2 separate regions of the Homo sapiens genome follow, and region 1 is linked to region 2. Evidence: promoter capture Hi-C in 16 types of primary human blood cells and fetal thymus (Javierre and others, 2016). All regions are on one chromosome and are shown on one strand. The core of a region is centred on a gene start or on the middle of the fragment in contact, and the rest is flanking DNA. Distances in the headings are between cores, read along the strand shown.

What was found. The method cuts DNA at HindIII sites, captures the fragments that hold promoters and counts their contacts. A CHiCAGO score of 5 or more calls a contact.
Region 1: a contact is called between a fragment that was not itself captured here and the fragment with the promoter of TSPAN16 in region 2, in 1 of 17 cell types (endothelial precursors). The highest score is 7.9, in endothelial precursors.

What each region holds. Positions count from the first base shown.
Region 1 is chr19:11,587,162-11,590,156 of GRCh38, reverse strand. It overlaps the pseudogene GAPDHP76. Among named protein-coding and RNA genes, the nearest start is that of ZNF627, 8.8 kb to the left of the region's middle. The HindIII fragment of the contact is 6,110 bases long and covers 1-2,995 here.
Region 2 is chr19:11,294,544-11,297,778 of GRCh38, reverse strand. It overlaps TSPAN16 (tetraspanin 16), which reads right to left and starts at 1,619. Exons shown (of 7, transcript NM_001282509.2): 1 at 1,413-1,619. The coding sequence starts at 1,481. The HindIII fragment of the contact is 19,527 bases long and covers 1-3,235 here.

The DNA.
Region 1 (2,995 bases), core at 242-2,741, 290 kb before region 2:
GAAACAAAACAAAACAACAACAACAACAACAAAACATATGTATTCCTTCCTGCGGATCATGAATACTGAAATAATTGGGGGTACCGGCTGGGCGTGGTGGCTCACGTCTGTAATCCCAGCACTTTGGGAGGCCGAAGCAGGCAGATGACCTGAAGTCAAGAGTTTGAGACCAGCCTGGCAAACATGGGGAAACCCCGTCTCTACTAAAAATACAAAAAGTAGCTGGGCGTGGTGCCGGGGGCCTGTAATCCCAGCTACTTGGGAGACTGAGACAGGGGAATCGCTTGAACCCGGGAGGCAGAGGCTACAGTGAGCCGAAATTGCGTTACTGCACTTCAGCCTGGACTCCATCTCAAAAAAATAATAAATAATTGAGGATGGTGAACAAAACCTTGGGTGGAGAGAAATGGGTGCCTAGTAATAACGGGATTAGAGGAACGAGTGTCCATTGGTGTTGTTGACTGTGAGGTGGGTCGTTGTGGAGTTCACAGCTGAGGGAGATCTGTGTGGGGCTCCTTCCTGCCCTGGCTATGGCTTACTCCAGCCGGTCCCCGCATCCTCCCGTGCCCGCTGACAGCCTTGCTGCAGGAGGGGCACCAGAACTTCTCAGCCTGCTACTCCCAAGCAGTTCAGCGGTACCCAGGATAGAAGGACCAGGAGCTGGAGTGGATAAGTCAGGTAACCATGGAATCAGTGGGCACCGGCTGGGATGAAAAGGAGGACAGGGGTTAGGTGGGGCTTGGGTGGGGTTTTCCTCCTTGCCATCCAACTGGCTCAGCAATGGCTGAGGCAAGGAAGTCACCATTTGCTTTCACTTGATGGTGGAGACGATGGATGTTTTTACTCTGGGGGCTAGAGCTGGTGGATATCTGAGAGGATGTGGGGAGGGGTTGGGGGAGCATGATGGGGTCTAGAGAGTAACGGGAATGTTTGATCACGAGGATCAAACATTCAAACATTCAAATGATCAAACGTTCAAATCATTGAGGAAAGAGGTGGGAGTTAGGTAATATAAAGACCAACTCCTGGCCGGGCGCGGTGGCTCACGCCTGTAATCCCAGCACTTTGGGAGGCCGAGGCGGGCGGATCAAGAGGTCAGGAGATCGAGAGCAACCTGGCTAACACGGTGAAATCCCGTCTCTACTAAAAATACAAAAAATTAGCCGGGCGTGGTGGCGGGCACCTGTAGTCCCAGCTACTTGGGAGGCTGAGGCAGGAGAATGGCGTGAACCCGGGAGGCGGAGCTTGCAGTGAGCCGAGATAGCGCCACTGCACTCCAGCCTGGGTGACAGACTGAGACTCCATCTCAAAAAAAAAAAAAAAAAAGAAAGAAACCAACTCCTTGGCATGACAGACCCCACCTCACCTCTCCCGATTTGGGATTTTGTTTGTTTGTTTGTTTTGGTGGAATCTCGCTCTGTCGCCCAGGCTGGAGTGCAGTGGCACGATCTTGGCTCACTGCAACCTCCACCCCCTGGGTTCAAGCATTCTCCTGCCTCAGTCTCCCGAGTAGCTGGGCTTACAGGCGCCCGCCACCACACCTGGCTAATTTTTTATATTTTGGTATAGACGAGGTTTCACCATGTTAGGCAGGCTAGTCTCGAACTCCTGGCCTCAAGTGATCCACCCGCCTCGGCCTCCCGAAGTGCTGGGATTACAGGTGTGAGCCACTGAGCCCAGCCCCATTTGAGATTATTGACCCACCTGGAACCTAGCCAGACTGAACTGGTGGCAGCAAACTACAACAGTGAACAGCTACATTTACATCATGCCACCCTCCAAACCACCAGCCTGACCCTCCACAGCTCATCCTGCCCTCCCATTCTCCAGACTGAAAATCAGTCCCTTAGCCTGTGCGAGCCCCACCAAATCCATAATTCCACCTCCCGTGCACTGAGGCAGGCATGGGGGTAGCCAGTCACCAGGACACCTTCACACCCATGCAGCTGAACTGTGCTGACTGATAGCGCCAAGGAGCTCATGGCGAGTGAGGCAGAGCCCCATCCAAGCCAGGGTCCTCTTTCCAGGCTTTTACCCAGTGCCTACTCAGAACTGCCTATAGATCCCCTCCTCTGAGAATCTCACCAGAGCAGACACGGTTTGCAATTTCCTGGGAATCCGGCTGCTCATCATGTTATCCTACAAACATTCCAGTCCCAGCATACCTCACTCATCCCACCCCTGGAATTTTCTCTGGGGCAGTCTCTGGCTGGATCCACTGTAGAATCTGTCCACGCCCTGCACAGGCCTAGTGGCAAGTGGGGGGCTGGAAGGAGCATTAATTTCTTCTCCAAAAGGGAAACTGGGTCTGCGTTCGGTGCTGCAGTTCAGGCTGTGGCCATGCAGGGGCAGCAGTGGACAGATAAAAACGTCTGAAAAAGGCGCTCAGGCTGCGGGAACAGTAGACCATCCCCAGGGACTTCACTGCCCAAGGCATCTGCCTAATTTCTCTCTCCTCTCCTCTGCCTAATTTCTCTCTCCTCTCCTCTCCTCTCCTCTCCTCTCCTCTCCTCTCCTCTCCTCTCCTCTCCTCTCCTCCCCTCCCCTCCCCTCCCCTCCCCTCCCCTCCCCTCCCCTCTTTTCTCTCTCTCTCTCTCTCTCCTTTCTCTCTCTCTCTCTGTCTAATCTGTCTATCTTCTATCCATCCGTCTATCATCTATCTATATTGGAGACAAAGTCTCACCATATTGCCCAGGTTGGTCTCAAACTCCTAGGCTCAAGCAATCTTCCCACCTGAGCCTCCCTAAATGCTGGGATTACAGGCAAGAGTAATTTTCATTTTTTGTTTTTTTTTTGTTTTTTTTTGTTTTTGGTCTAAGTACAGAGGACCTTACTGCTTTATTGATAGGCCCTGTTCTTCAGGGGGTCTGGCATGGAAACTGTGTATGGGGAGATTTTCAGTGTGGTGGGGGGCTGAGTGCAGCAGGGACTCCCAAGCAGCTGAGGGCCTCTCTCTTCCTCTCATACTGTCACTGGGGCTCCTGGTCTGAGGGTC
Region 2 (3,235 bases), core at 370-2,869:
ACACCTGTAATCCCAGCACTTTGGGAGGCCGAAGCAGGTGGATCACCTGAGGTCAGGAGTTCGAGACCAGCCTGGCCAACATGGCGAAACCCTGTCTCTACTAAAAATACAAAAATTGGCCGGGCGTGGTGGTGGGCACCTGTAATCCCAGCTACTCAGGAGGCTGAGGCAGAAGAATCGCTTAAACCTGGGAGGTGGAGGTTGCAGTGAGCTGAGATCATGCCACTGCACTCCAGCCTGGGTGACAGAGCAAGACTCCGTCTCAAAATAAAATAAAATAAAATAAAATAAAATAATGTCATAGGACAGGGATTAGCAATTTTTTTTTTCTGAAAAACCCAGATGTTGTGGCCTCTGCAGGACTTAAGGTGTCTGTTGAAACTACGCAGTTCTATTGGTGTAGCCCAAAAGCAGCTGTTCACAATCTCCAAATAAGTGAGCACGGCCATGTTCCAATAACACTTTATTTTGTATTATTATTTTTTAAATAGAGATGGGGATCTCACTATAGCTGGTCTCGAGCTCCTGGCTCAATGGATCTGCCCACCTCGGCCTCCCAAAGTGCTGGGATTACAGGCATGAGTCACCACAGCCGGCCTTAATTCTCTTTAAAATGTTACAAGTGAAGAGGAGGAGTGATATTTCATTTCCTTCTCTTTCCTGGCAGCTTTTCCTTAGACTATGCTACAATGAAGACAATTACTTCTTTTTATGTTTTTATTCTTTTATTTTTTTATTGAGACAGAGTCTCGCTATGTTGCCCAGGCTGGAGTGCAGTGACACAATCTCGGCTCACTGCCAACCTCTGCCGCCCAGGTTCAAGCAATTCACATGCCTCAGCCTCCTGAGTAGCTGGGATTATAGGCACGTGCCACCACGCCCATCTAATTTTTTTGTATTTTTAGTAGAGATGGGGTTTCCCCATATTGACCAAGGCTGGTCTTGAACTCCTGACCTCGTGATCCACCCGCCTTGGCCTCCCAAAGCGTTGGGATTACAGGCATGAGCCAGCGCCCCCGGCCTGACAATTCCTTAGCAATGTACATTTCGGGTTACTTTTACGGTAAGGAAAAAAATGTGACAAATTTAAAAGATCAAGAAAATAACCCTTTCTCCTGGCCTTCCCAAACAACTTGGTCGGCTACAGGATTTGACTTAGAGCCAAGCTCTTCCATCACCCACCTGGGCTCCCCCAGATCACACTCATCTGTGCTGGATTTCACCAGCTCTCGGTTGATGGAGGTCCCCACGCTCCCTGCTCCTCCTCCTCCGTCTGCCCTACATCCCTCCTGCTTCTCCAGGGAACCACAGATCTCGATGCCAATTTGGATCAACTTATTTCTGTCTTTCAGGGAGCTGACTGTGGAGGAAGGGCTGCAACAAACCAGGGGCCTGGATTGTGACATACTTACAGCCACGAAGCCATTGAGTAAAGATAACAGTTTCTTCAAGGAAGAATACGGAGTGTGGATTTCAGCCATGCTGAACAGACTGGGGCACCCTGAACATTTAAGTTAACATCTTCCTGAACCTCTGGGCTACTGTTTCCCAAGATGATAGGGATCTGAGGAAGGGGCGCCAATGCTGACTTGCTCTGCCCCTCTGTGTCCTGGCTGCCTGATGGTTGTCCAAGGCGGCCCAGCAGCTGCCCCCTGCCCTGGTCATAAGCCTTTTATCACATCACAATTGGGTTCTGGAGCAAGGCTCATGGTCCAGGGAAATCAGGTGCCCCAAACTGCCCCCTGTTGGCTCCTCATCCTTCAAACAGGTCACAGCAGGGAAAGAGAACAGGCATGGTATGCTACCCTGGTACCCTCCAGATGCCACCAGGACCCTGTGGGCATAGTGCCCAGAGCTAACCACTTGCACAGTTGACATCTCCTAGTAGACTGGGGGATCCAAGCGGGGGAGGGGGGAACTTGGGCTGTCCTATTAACAGCTGTGACCCCTGCCAGGCGCAGTGGCTCACACCTGTAGTCAAAGCATGTTGGGAGGCGGAGACGGGCGAATCACCTGAGGTCAGGAGTTTGAGACCTACTAACAATACAAACAATACAAAAATTACCTGGGTGTGGTGGCACACGCCTATAATCCCAGCTACTTGGGAGGCTGGGGCAGGAGAATCACTTGAACCCAGGAGGTGGAGGTTGCAGTGATCTGAGGTCGTGCCATTCCACTCCAGCCTGGTTGACGGAGTGAGACTCTGTCTCAAACAAAACAAAACAAAAACAAAAACAGCTGTGTCCCCAAAGCCTGGCACTGCAGTACTTAAGAAACCCGCGGAGAATGAATGAATGGATCCAGAGGCTCTGTGATGCAGAAATCTAGCTACAAGCCACCGGGCCTCCCAAGCCCAAGCCCATACTTGGCCCATCCTTCATACAGGGCTCAGAGAGGCCAAGGGAACTGCCTGAGGCCACACAGGAAGCAAGACCAGGCTTTGAAGCCCCAAGAGTAACATGAGGGCAGGAACCTGTAAGGCAGAGAGTCCTGGAACTGTGAGCCATTGGTCACTGGGTTTTTTTCTTTTGAGACAGGATCTTGCTCCATTGCCCAGGCTGGAGTGCAGTGGTGTGATCATGGCTTACTGCAGCCACGACCTCCCTGGCTCAAGTGATCCTCCCACCTTAGCCTCCCAAGTAGCAGGTCATTGGGCTTTTCTCCATGGTGATAGATGTAGTTAGCATTTCAGGACCAAAAACCTTCTGTATGTCAGCACTGAAGACCTCCAGGCCTAGATCCTGCAGTCTGTAGCCCACTTTGCCCCCATACCTCCCCACCCTAACCATAGCAGCTTCACATTGCCCCACCCCGATCCCCTCTCTGTCCAGCCCTGGGCTGGGGTGTGTCTGGGTCCAGGTCCTGCATGGATTGGGGGAAGGCGGATGGTTCAAATGGGAGAAAATACCTTACACTTTAATTAATTTAATGAATGTCTGTCAAATCGCCTGCTTCTTGGAACATGTAGAACTAAGCAAGATGTTCACAGAGGAGTGCTGTCTCCTCCTGGACCACGGGTGCTGTTCACAGCCAGGAGTGTGTCCTTCCACACCTTTATTTAAGAGGTCATTTGAAGCCAGGCGCGGTGGCTCACGCCAGTAATCCCAGCACTTTGGGAGGCCGAGGTGGGTAGATCACGAGGTCAGGAGATCGAGACCATCCTGGCTAATGCAGTGAAACCCTGTCTCTACTAAAAATACAAAAAATTAGCCGGTTGTGGTGGCGGGTGCCTGCA